4 separate regions of the Homo sapiens genome follow, and regions 1, 3 and 4 are each linked to region 2. The links are contacts of gene promoters, found by promoter capture Hi-C in blood cells and fetal thymus (Javierre and others, 2016). All regions are on one chromosome and are shown on one strand. Each heading gives the region's core, a stretch centred on a gene start or on the middle of the fragment in contact. The rest is flanking DNA. Distances are from core to core; before and after follow the strand shown.

Region 1 (2,700 bases), core at 11-2,510, 500 kb after region 2:
CTGTCCAGCTTCTGCCACATCCCAGGAGAACTGTGGTTAGAACCAGCTGGAGCCACACAACACTGTCCGAACACGCAGCATCTGGCCAACCTGTGTGCTGCCAGCACCCACCCTATCTGGAACATGCTGCCAGCCTCTCAAGTGTCATCTCTTCAGGAGCCACGCTTGACCTAGCAGACATATGCCCGGCTAGATCTGAGAGGACTGGAAAACAGCCCCTGACTTATAGCTGTATCCCCAGCACCCAGCACCAGGCCTGCACACCTATGTGTTCAAGAAGCACTCACCAGTGAAGAAGAGGAAGAAACCCCACTGCTCTGGAGGCTTCTAGCCTCTCCTCACTCCTCCTCTCATCTCCCGCCCCGACCCACGCATCACTCCGCCGACGCCTGGTACACACGACGTGCACTGCACAGCCACCTTCTCCCTGCACACGGGCCCAAGCTCGGACACAGGCACGACCAGGACTGGCGGGCTGCAGAGCTCTCTGACCCGGTGAGGCACTGGCCCTCAGGCTCAAAGCCACCTGCAAACGCCAAAATCCCTCCAGACTCGGGCCAGCTGTCTGCTCCTCTGGCTCTGCCACTCCCCTAGGCCGGCTCATCCCTGCCCCTCACTGGGCAGGCCAGCCCTAGGGCTCCTCTAGGAGCCATGCAGGCCTGACATCGGCTGCTGTCTGACACCTCCTTCTGGCTACATCACTGACACTTCAAACACACATTCCCAAAACAGAGTTCACAACCCCTCCCTGCCTGAGAGCCAAAACTGGTCCTAGCCCCCGGGTCCCAGCCCCCAGGTCCCAGCCCCCAGGCCCCAGCCTGTGACTGACCCCATCTCCCTGCACCCACAGGGCCCATCAGCCCCTCCTCTAAGAGCAGGCCTGGGAACAGGCCCAGGACGGGGCAACCACACCCAGTTCTGCCCCACAAGCGCCCCCGCTCATCCCAAGGTCCACCATGAGTTTGGGTTTTTTTTTTTTTTTTTGGAGGAAGGGTTATCTTTATATTTTTATTTTTAAAAATAGAGATAGGGTCTCACAGTGTTGCCCAGGCTGGTCTTGAACTCCCAGGCTCAAGCGATCCTCCCACTTCAGGCTCCCAAAGTGCTGGGATTACAGGTGTGAGCCAAGGCACCCAGCCCAGCGTGGATTTGTGCCAGGAAGAGCCAGCAGGAGCTGACCAGCCCCATGGAAGCCTCCAGGCCGGCTGCCTGCTCTCATCTCCCAAGAGCCCGCCTTTGCTTCTGCCAGCCACTCACGCTCTCCACAGGCTGCAGCCAGGTACACACCCCCCTTCAAGCAACAAAACCACTGCCTGAGCACCTGGCCTGCTCTAAGCCCAGGGCTGAGACAAGGGGGAGCCAGCCACACACAACACCAGGAGCGCTGGCATCGCCGGAGCAAGGAGCCCGTGATGGCCGTCCACCCGGGACAGCAATCGCGCTCTGCGGCACGAGGCTTTCAACAGAGGCGAGTGCTTCCTGGGGGTCAAGAGCATGGAACACACACTTCAGGCCCCCTCTCCAGGCTGCAGGCCAACAGGCGTCCATGAGACAGACACTCCCTGATGTGTCCCACTCAGTTCTCCTGCCGCTGAGTGACTCTCCCAGGGAGGCCCAGAGCCACATGCTCTTGGTAGCCCCTACTCCTCCAGGTGTTAAAGCAGGTGCCCATGTACAGTCCACAAGCACAGGCCATCAGGCTGGGCAAGGATGGGCAAGGAACCAGGCCCCTGCCCTTTGAGGCTCAGGAGCTCCAAGCTACAGAATAGGGTTCCAAAGCTCCAGCCACTCGGAGGACACACAGGCCACAGGAAGCCGGCGACCAGTCCACAGAGAGACGCGCTGTGGGGCCCGACAGGCTGAGGTCAGGCAGTGGGATCCCCCCTTCACAGTCCTCCCGGCCTTGGGCGGGGCTATCCAGGAGGGGGCTGCCCCTCCCTGCCAGAGTGCACTGGGGCCTGTATGATGCCAGCCTGAGAAAGATGCGCAACTCCAGCTCCACCTGCACGGAGATGCCCCACAGCAGATCCCTGCCAAAATGGCATTTGCAAAGCGAGGAAACTGAGCCCCAGGAAGGCCACAATGATCAAAAACGGTCTCACTGCAACTTCCAGATACATTTTCTAGGCCTCTGGTTTTGGCCTTTTTAAATGTTGGCATATGGACTAAGGAATGGAATACCTAACTGCTCTCCAAGAAAGGAGTTTGTTACTTCTGGGTCACAGATTCCACACGTTCACCTTTCTGGCCTTCATACCTCACGTGTCACAGCCAAGACTCCTAGGAGGTCCCCTGCCTGCCGTCATGAAGGGCGCCTGCAGCCTGGTGCGCCACCCCCACATGCCCTGCACGCGGCAAACCGCTCAATAAGGACTGCAGTGAACACTTTCTTTAAATCATTGATGGTTTTCTTAATCATCTTAGAATCACTCTGCTACACGGATGTCCCTGGAGTTTCGATTCCTAAATCAGCAGTCTTCCACTCCGCATCCGCGCCCCCGCAGTGCCCCGCCTGGCACGGGCAGGGGTGCCTCCCAGACAACGGAAACCAGACGAGGGCCAGGCCAGGCAGACACACCGGGCAGCCACTGAACTGCTGGGCCAAGACCTCCAGCCTCCCAAACCCAGATTCCTGGTCCTAGGAGACGGCTTTCTCAGCTGCAGCCCAGACTCCGCGGTAAGGCCACAACCCAACCCACC
Region 2 (2,700 bases), core at 4-2,503:
CCTTCACCCTCCTTAAGGGGTGCAGGCCCCCAGGAAGTGACTGCCCATGCAGACCCCTAGTGACCAGATGCTGGGTTCCGCTGGGGTCCTGGTAGTGGGCAGTGCAGGCCCTGGAGATGTTCATGGCCGCGTGGACACCTTAAGAGTCCAGCAGACGTGGGGTTAGGAAGAGAGGATGTACTGGCTGGGGAAAGGAACGCCCATCGGGGCAGCCTCAGAAAGTGCCCGATTCCAAGAGTCTGGGCAGGCGTGGGCTTGGACTGCCCAGTGTGCCTGGACAGCCGTGTACACACACTGGTGTGCCTGAGTAGGTATGTGCACATATGTGTACACATAGGTGACATGGGCTTAGACTGCCTGGTGCACCCAGACAGGTGCGTGCCGCAGGGACAGAGTATACGATGTGTGGTGTGGGGCGTGACCCACTTCCTGGTGCAAGAACACATACACGCCTGTGGACGTAGCCTTGCTGGGTGTGTGCACATCTGCAGAGGGGTCGGTGTACACCGCTGTGTGAACACCTCCGGCGGTGCCCAGTCCGTGTGAACACATGCAGGTGAGCACAGACACATGCGTGCATGCCCTCTGTGTGTCTACAGACAGCTGTGTGCGCCACACTCACCCTCCCGCTCGTCCCCATGGCAACCCCAGAGCAGGTGTCTGGGAGACCCTGATCAGTGCTGACAGACACGGGGTGCGGGACACGTGGGATGGGCCTCCCCAGGGACGGCTGGGCCAATCGGGGTTCCTGGGCAGAGGCTCCAGCAGGAGTGAGAGTGCTTCCTCCTCCCCAGTCCATGCCACCTCCTCCTGCGTGCCGGCAAGGTGGGCAGCACTCGGGAAGCCCCCGTCTGGCTGTGATTCTTGCAGGGCGATTGGAGCAATACAGCCCTGTCTGGCCTGTCCGTGCACCGACGCTTAGAGCTGAACAGCCTTCAGGGCCACAGACTCAGCAGGGAGCGCCCAGTCTGTGGTCCTGGTCTCACTTCCTAGAAAGAGAAACCGAGGCTTGAAGCAGCTCCAGCCAGGGTTCCCCAGCCAGCCCCGGCAGACCCAGGCCCCTCACACTCCACCATGCCCACCTCCATCTGGAAGGAGGCAGGGAGCCCCCAGGTCCCAGGCTTGGGAGGCCGGTGCCGGGCAGGGCTGGGGAATGCCATCACCTTAAACCCACACTGGCCTCCCTGCGGGTGGTTTTCCTGCCTCCCTTTGCCGTTTTGCTGGTTATCAAAGACCTTTGCTGCGAGACCCAGGCCGGCCCAGCCCAGCGCCTCCCATCCTCCTGTGAAGTCATCCGCTCAGTTGGCAGGGTTCCCATGGCAACGGCAGTGATGTCACAAAGAGCTGGAGGAGGATGGCTGGAGGGAGGAGTGGGGTGAGGCTCCGGGAGGGGATTCCTGGCTTCTCCCAGGCCTTCTAGAAAGATAGAGCTCTGGTCCATCAGTCACTCAATAGGCCGGAGCTTATGCCCCTAGAAGCAGATCCCAGGGGTACCCCCCACCTCCCTGAGACAGGAAACCATCTCCTTGAAGGAGTCAGCTCCCCCAGCACCCAGACGCCCACCTGCCCAGGTGCAGAGGCCCTTGCAGGAGCGAGGGTATGAGACAGGAGGCCCTGACACCAAGACGTCACTGTCACCATGCCTGGCCCGCACAGCGGTCCTTTGCCAAACTTAGACTGACTCTGAGGGCTGCTGGCTGCACACCCTCCAGGGTGCATTCGAGACCACCTGTCAGCTGCCCTGCACTTGAGTTTCTTGATCTCCACTGCTATTAATAGTTTAATTCCAGAACCAAAGAAACTGTCTGTTCCACAGAAGTGGGGGACTCTGAGAGTCTCCCTGACCCTGGCTGCCAACAGCAGCCTGTGCCCAGCTGGGACAAATTCCAGCTCCCTGCCCTCCCTGTTGAGTGCTGCAGAGGGGCGTCGGGCGTCGTGCACATGTGCCCATCCCCCTCACTTTGAGTTACGCTGCAGACGGCTCCGGATGCACGTGGCTGTGCCAGGCAGCAGACGTGGCCGACAGGCACATGGTGGGACCTGCTCTGTGGCTCCAGAGCTCATGCGCAGCCCGCTGGGGCTGTGAGGGTTCTGTCCATCCACCAGGAAGGCCACCAGGACCCTGCTCCTGCCTGAGAACCCCAGGAAGTAGTAGCGTGCCAGGTGCGTGGCCGGCCTCCCAGCCCTTCCCAGCACCAGCTGCGTCCTCCTCCTCCAGGGCTGCAGCTCAGGGCTCAGGTGTCCGCGTCGAGGGCACTCCCTAAAGGGCAGGAGCAGGACCATTGGCACAAGCCTGGGCGAGTCTCGCTGGGAGGCAGGAGCAGACTCAGCCCGCCAAGCCCATGAACCCCACTTTGAAAACTGTGCAGCCGTGCGCGGCCACTCACACCTGTAATTCCAGCACTTTGGGAGGCTGAGGCGGGCAGATCACCTGAGGCCAGGAGTTCAAGACAAGCCTGGCCAACATGGAGAAACCCCGTCTCTACTAAAAAATACAAAAATTAGCCGGGCGTTGTGGTGGACACCTGTAATCCCAGTTACTTGGGAGGCTGAGGCAGGGAGAATTGTTTGAACCCAGGAGGTGGAGGTTGCAGTGAGCCGAGATCGCGCCACTGCACTGCAGCCTGGGTGACAGAGCGAGACTCCGTGTCAAAAAAAAAAAAAAAAAAAAAAAAACCGTGCTGGTTTGGTTTCACTGAC
Region 3 (2,700 bases), core at 82-2,581, 440 kb after region 2:
AGAGGACACTAAACTCCCTGGCTCTCTAAGGAAACAGGGAGCAGCTGAGACTGTGACAGGAAAAGGAATTTAACCAATTTAAAATTCAAAGCGCTGCTTCTGTTCCCCGACGAGCTTGTCAGTCCCAGGGGACCTCTGCGCAGGCACTGATGGTGTCCTTGCTCAAGGCCTCCCAGCTCATCCTCACAAATGTGCTGGAACATTCGTGCCTGCACCAGCTGGGCCCCCAGGTTCTCATCCAGAGAGCAGCAACAGGGACAGCTCAGGTGTGTCCCCCAGGCCCACACGCCTCCCCAGGGGTGCTCTGTGCCCTTCAGCCCCCATCAGCCCTTGTCCTCACCCTGGCCCGAGCTGGCTCAGGCTGGGAAGGTCAGCAGGATGTGACAGCCATCGCACCTGGGGTCTCTCTGGTCATGACAAGGGACCTGCTTCCTTCTTTCGGCAACTGGCAGTCACACAAGTCCTGTGAGCCCCCCACAAGGGCCTGACCATGCACACGTGAAATGATGGAGGGCTGCTCAGGTGCCTCTAATGGAAAGGCTGGTGAAAGATGTGCCTCGTAGACCCGCCGCGGCGCTGCCTCCTGACGCTCAGCGTGGTCCCTCTCTTCTCCAAGCAGTCAGTGAGGCTGACTCAGGAGGAAGCTGGCCCCAACTGCATTTTGTCTCAATCTGACCCCTGGGACAGCTCTCTCTAGCCTCATCTTACTTGCTAATTTTTGTTTTAAATTTACAGATATTCTTTTTTCAAGCAATTATAGGTTTACAGGAAAACTGAGGAGAAATGAGAGTTCTCATCTACCCTTCAGCCCCCAGGCAGATTCCCCTGCACCGTGCACGACTGCAGTCCATTCATTACAACTGATGAACCCAAGTCCACAGTGGACACGTGGGCTCACTTGTCATGTCTTACATTCTCGGGTTTAGACGAACGCATGTCTGCAGTCCCTGTGCGACCGCGCGTCCACCATCACGGCCGCGTGCAGTCGGTTCACTGCTGCGTGCGACCGCGCGTCCACCATCACGGCCGCGTGCAGTCGGTCCACTGCTGCGTGCGACTGCGTGTCCACCATCACGGCCGCGTGAAGAGTAGGTTCATTCCCCAAAAATCCTCTGGGTCCGCCTGCGCATCCCTCTTGTCCATCCCTGGCAACCACCGATCTTTTTACTGTGTCCACAGTTCTGCCTTTTCCAGAATACCACGGAGGAGAAATCCCACAGTACACCGCCTTTGCAGACTGTCCTCTTTCACTGTGCAATATATATTTAAGATTCTTCCACGTCTTTTCACAGCTTGGTAGCTCATTTCTTTTTAGCTCAGAACAGTATTTGAGTGAATGGACATACCATCTTTTATCCATTCACCCATGGAAGGACACTGTTACTGTGTGGTTCCCGACCCCTCCAAATCTCAGGTTGACAACTGATCCCCACGATTGGAAGCAGGACCTGAGAGGAGGGGTTTGGGCCATGGGGGTGGGTCCCTCATGACGGCTCATGCTGAAGAGCAGTCCTCACTTCATCAGTTACCAGGAGAGATGATTGTTACAGGGAGCCTGGCGTCTCCCTGCTCTCCCCCTTCCTGCGTCTGCTTTGGTGAGGCGCCTGTTCAGAGCTCACCCATTTTCAATGCTGAGCATCTCCTCACGTGCTTCTCCGTCACCCACGTGTCTGCTTTGGTGAGGCACCTGTTCAGAGCTCACCCATTTTCAATGCTGAGCATCTCCTCATGTGCTTCTCCTTCACCCACGTGTCTGCTTTGGTGAGGCACCTGTTCAGAGCTCACCCATTTTCAATGCTGAGCATCTCCTCATGTGCTTCTCCGTCACCCACGTGTCTGCTTTGGTGAGGCACCTGTTCAGAGCTCACCCATTTTCAATGCTGAGCATCTCCGCACGTGCTTCTCCGTCACCCGCGTGTCTGCTTTGGTGAGGCGCCTGTTCAGAGCTCACCCATTTTTTAATTGGGTGGTCTGTTTCCTTACCACTGAGTTTGAAGAGTTCTTTGTATAATTTGGATAACAGCCCTTATCAGATATGTCTTTTGCATGACGGTGAAAAATATTTTCTCCATTTGGGGCTTCTCCTTTTATTCTCAACAGTTTCCTTCGCAGAGCAGCCATTTCCAACTCTAACGAGGTCCATCTCATCAATTCTTTCAGACTGTGCCTTTGGTGTTGTACGTTAAAAGTCACTGCCTAATTGAGAGTCAGCTAGATATTTCCGCCGCTATCTTCTAGGAGTTTTAAAGTTTTGTGCTTTACACTCAGGTATGTGATCCACTCTGAGTTGATTTTTGAGGAAGGTGTAAGGTCTGTGTCTAGATTTTTCCCCTGTGGCTGTTCCGCTGTTCCAGCACCATTTGCTGAGAAGACCGTTTTCCTCTGAGCTGCCTTTGCTCTGCGGTCCACGATCAGCCGAGTATATCTGTGTGGGTCTATCTCGTGGCTCTCTGACCTGTTCCACAGACCTGTTCGTCCATTCTTCCATCAACAGCGCACCACCTTGATCACTGTGGTTTTACGCTAAGTCTTGAGGTCGGGGAGTGTCAGTTTTCCGGTGTTGTTCACTGGTGTTGTGCTGGCCATTGCCATCTTTTGCCTTCCCATATAAACTTTAGAATCTGTTGATATCCACAAATATAACTTGCTGGGATTCTGACTGGGACTGCACAGACCCTCTGGGGAGAACTGATAATATAT
Region 4 (2,700 bases), core at 40-2,539, 460 kb after region 2:
TAGAAAGCAGGCGCTGGCAATGCTGTGAGAGCCCCACCCAGCCCCACTCAGGGAGCCCGCACCGCACCACTGAATGAGCAACGGGGACCCCGACATTGGCCAAGGAGGCTACCTGCACCCCTGGAAGGAGAGGTCCCAGTCACTCTGTCAGCCAGGCCCCCAGAGCAGCCTCGGGTGGATCCCGGGCACACCCTCCCAGCAGCCTGCCCGGGAGCTCCTCTCTGCGAGTCAGCCACGGCCACGGAGAGGCACACTGCAACCACGGACCCCTAACAGAAGCCATCCTGCTGCCTAAAACGCGCACGCTGCAAACCTCACGCACTGGGCCCGACCAGACTCTGCCCTGAGACAGCCACTGACCTTTCCTGTCACTTGAGCACCCTACCCATGGGCCCCCGAAACCCTCATCAGCTCATCCAGCGCTCACACAGCCCCTCCCCCGGTCTTCCAGCACCCAGCTCCTCCTCCAAACAGAGGAAGGGCCACTTCCTTACAGTGTCTCTGGCCACCCCCACGCCCCTCGCCATCCCATGCCTGTTTTGCACGGCACAGAGGACAGCTGGAGGCCGCCTTGCCCAGCATTAGTTTGGTGTTTCTGGAGTGTCTTCCATCACTGGAACAAAGCTACCAAGAGCCTGTGAGCAGATGTCCTGCGGCCTGGCCCAGGCCCTGAGCCCTCACACACACCCAGGGCTGGTCATAAGCCCTCCCTCTGACCACAGCCAATTCACACAGAGCACGCCACGGCCTTCTCCCTTCCACGTCCCCCAGAGAGGCCTCCTCTGCCCACCCAAAGAACAGGCCCCTTGCTGAACATCTAGTGGGGACAGCGATGGGTGCAGAAGGAGTAGCTGGCACCGGGGAGACCCCATCTGTCCTCACACACACAGGCAAACCGGGGTTAGAAAGCAGCTCCGTGGAAAAACCATTTATGACTGAAAGACCTTGGAAGAGAAACTGAACTCTAGGACAGAGATGAAAGGTGCAGCTGCCCTTGAACGCCGTGACCATTCTCTCCAGTTTCCCAAAGCTTCCAACCTCAGGGAGTTAAAAATATCAGTACGAAAGTAAGGAAACCTTTCCAAGCCAAGAGATATTTTTTCTGAAACATTTGAATGAGATATTTAAGTTGTTTTGCATTAATCAAAGGGGCTTGTAAATTTTCACTAACTCAGTGCAAAGAATTTATTTACAACAAATAAATAAAAATCGCATATATCCACATCTGCAACGGCGCCTCCCAGCCCCTGTGCCCAGAACCAGCGGCAGGTGGGGTGGTCACAGGCGGCAGGCTACAGGCTCCACCTACACAGCCAAGACCACCCCGCCTCACACCCCTCAGGGACCTCACATGTCACTGGACCTGAAACAGCAGGAGGCCAGTGGAGAGGCATTTGGCAGGCAGTACCAGGCCCCAGGGTTCTCCCAGCTGGGATGGTTCTCTCTCACCAGAGGGCACACTGCCTGCCACCTCCCTCTGTGGGGAAGCCTCCCTGCAGCCTGCAGAGCAGAAGGCAGGGTCAGGAGCATTTGACACCGATTTAGAAACAAGCTTCTTGCCCCAAGGTACGAACCCACCCAGCAAAGCTGGGAGCTGGGGTAAGATCTCAGAGGGCCAGGCTCTGCTAACCATGTTCTGCGATTCCCAGTGATGCCAAGACCATGATAAATGCAACCATTTAGCAATGAGGGGGGAAATGGGAGTGGTTCAAATCAACTGAAAAGTGACAGTGACAGAGCTCTCTTCTGAAGTGCTGGGCGCCCACAGATGGCACACGCACCAGGCAGTCTCCTACGTCACCCAGGAAGGCCTCTGTCTCATGTCATGGGGTCAACGCCTCATTCTGGCACTGATGGGCCACAGGAGAAACCTGAGTACTCTGGAGCCCCGGGGCATCCATCTCCATCACCCAAGGAGCAGGCTGGCTCTCCACATTCCCACCGACTCTGCAGGAGGCTGCTTCCGGGTGGCTCCCCTGCACGCTCCTCCTTGCCTGAGGTGGGTGTGACCTGGAGTTGTCCTGCCCCAGGCAGGAACAGAGAGCATGGCTTGCCCTGAGGCAGAAGGCTGGCGCCTGAGGCGGATGGTCCCACACAGACCCCAGCCCTCGGGAGCACTGTCACGTGATGGGCTCTCAGCCTGGATACTTGCTGGCCACATCCCTAGGCCCCCAGATCCCTGCCGGCTCTCAGTCCCCATGCGACCAGGCCCCCATCATAGGGAGGACTGAAGCTGCAGGGCTTGCTATTCCAGAGCCCTCCAACCACAGGGGCAGCCGTGCCCAACACCTCCCACGGGCAGAAGCCGCTGGAGGGCACAGGGGCACCAGAAGGAATCCCTCCCTTCGCAGCCTCTTGCGCTGAAAAACCCGCAGTCACCACTTTGGCTAAACCAAGCCTCACGAGCCCTGTCTGGCCATTCTTGCTCATGACCAGGGTTCAGCTTCCACTCAAAAGCACAAGCACAGTGAGCTCGATGACAGCCTTCAAGAACGTCACACGGGACCAGTCTACTCTACTTGCAGAGACAGAGGGAAGGCCAGGACATCCTTAAAGGAAAAGGAGATGGACCCATGGGAGAAAACCTGGGTCTCAGCCCCAGCCCTGACCCCTCCAGGCTCAACTCCCTACCTGCTCGGCTGGGCTTCCTAAGGCTCACTTCCAAAACCCTACGGCACAGGTACAGTGCACTGCTATTAC

Evidence for each region. The method cuts DNA at HindIII sites, captures the fragments that hold promoters and counts their contacts. A CHiCAGO score of 5 or more calls a contact.
Region 1: a contact is called between a fragment that was not itself captured here and the fragment with the promoter of LNCRI in region 2, in 11 of 17 cell types (M2 macrophages, M0 macrophages, erythroblasts and 8 more). The highest score is 12.2, in M2 macrophages.
Region 3: a fragment that was not itself captured here is called in contact with the fragment with the promoter of LNCRI in region 2 in 2 of 17 cell types (M0 macrophages and M2 macrophages); the score reaches 6.7 in M0 macrophages.
Region 4: a fragment that was not itself captured here is called in contact with the fragment with the promoter of LNCRI in region 2 in 4 of 17 cell types (M1 macrophages, M2 macrophages, M0 macrophages and 1 more); the score reaches 8.1 in M1 macrophages.

Annotation. Positions count from the first base shown.
Region 1 is chr7:2,197,117-2,199,816 of GRCh38, forward strand. The region is part of intron 10 of MAD1L1 (mitotic arrest deficient 1 like 1); the gene reads right to left. It overlaps LOC105375126 (a long non-coding RNA gene), which reads left to right and starts at 2,602. Exons shown (of 3, transcript XR_001745062.3): 1 at 2,602-2,677. The HindIII fragment of the contact is 6,509 bases long and covers 1-2,700 here.
Region 2 is chr7:1,693,097-1,695,796 of GRCh38, forward strand. LNCRI (lncRNA radiation induced regulator of PLK1 and RAD51) reads right to left here and starts at 1,254. Exons shown (of 4, transcript XR_007060188.1): 1 at 1,164-1,254; 2 at 1-989. All of the region lies in intron 2 of ELFN1 (extracellular leucine rich repeat and fibronectin type III domain containing 1), which reads left to right. The HindIII fragment of the contact is 12,694 bases long and covers 1-2,700 here.
Region 3 is chr7:2,131,424-2,134,123 of GRCh38, forward strand. All of the region lies in intron 11 of MAD1L1 (mitotic arrest deficient 1 like 1), which reads right to left. Among named protein-coding and RNA genes, the nearest start is that of SNORA114, 44 kb to the left of the region's middle. The HindIII fragment of the contact is 3,614 bases long and covers 1-2,700 here.
Region 4 is chr7:2,150,056-2,152,755 of GRCh38, forward strand. All of the region lies in intron 10 of MAD1L1 (mitotic arrest deficient 1 like 1), which reads right to left. Among named protein-coding and RNA genes, the nearest start is that of SNORA114, 62 kb to the left of the region's middle. The HindIII fragment of the contact is 522 bases long and covers 1,029-1,550 here.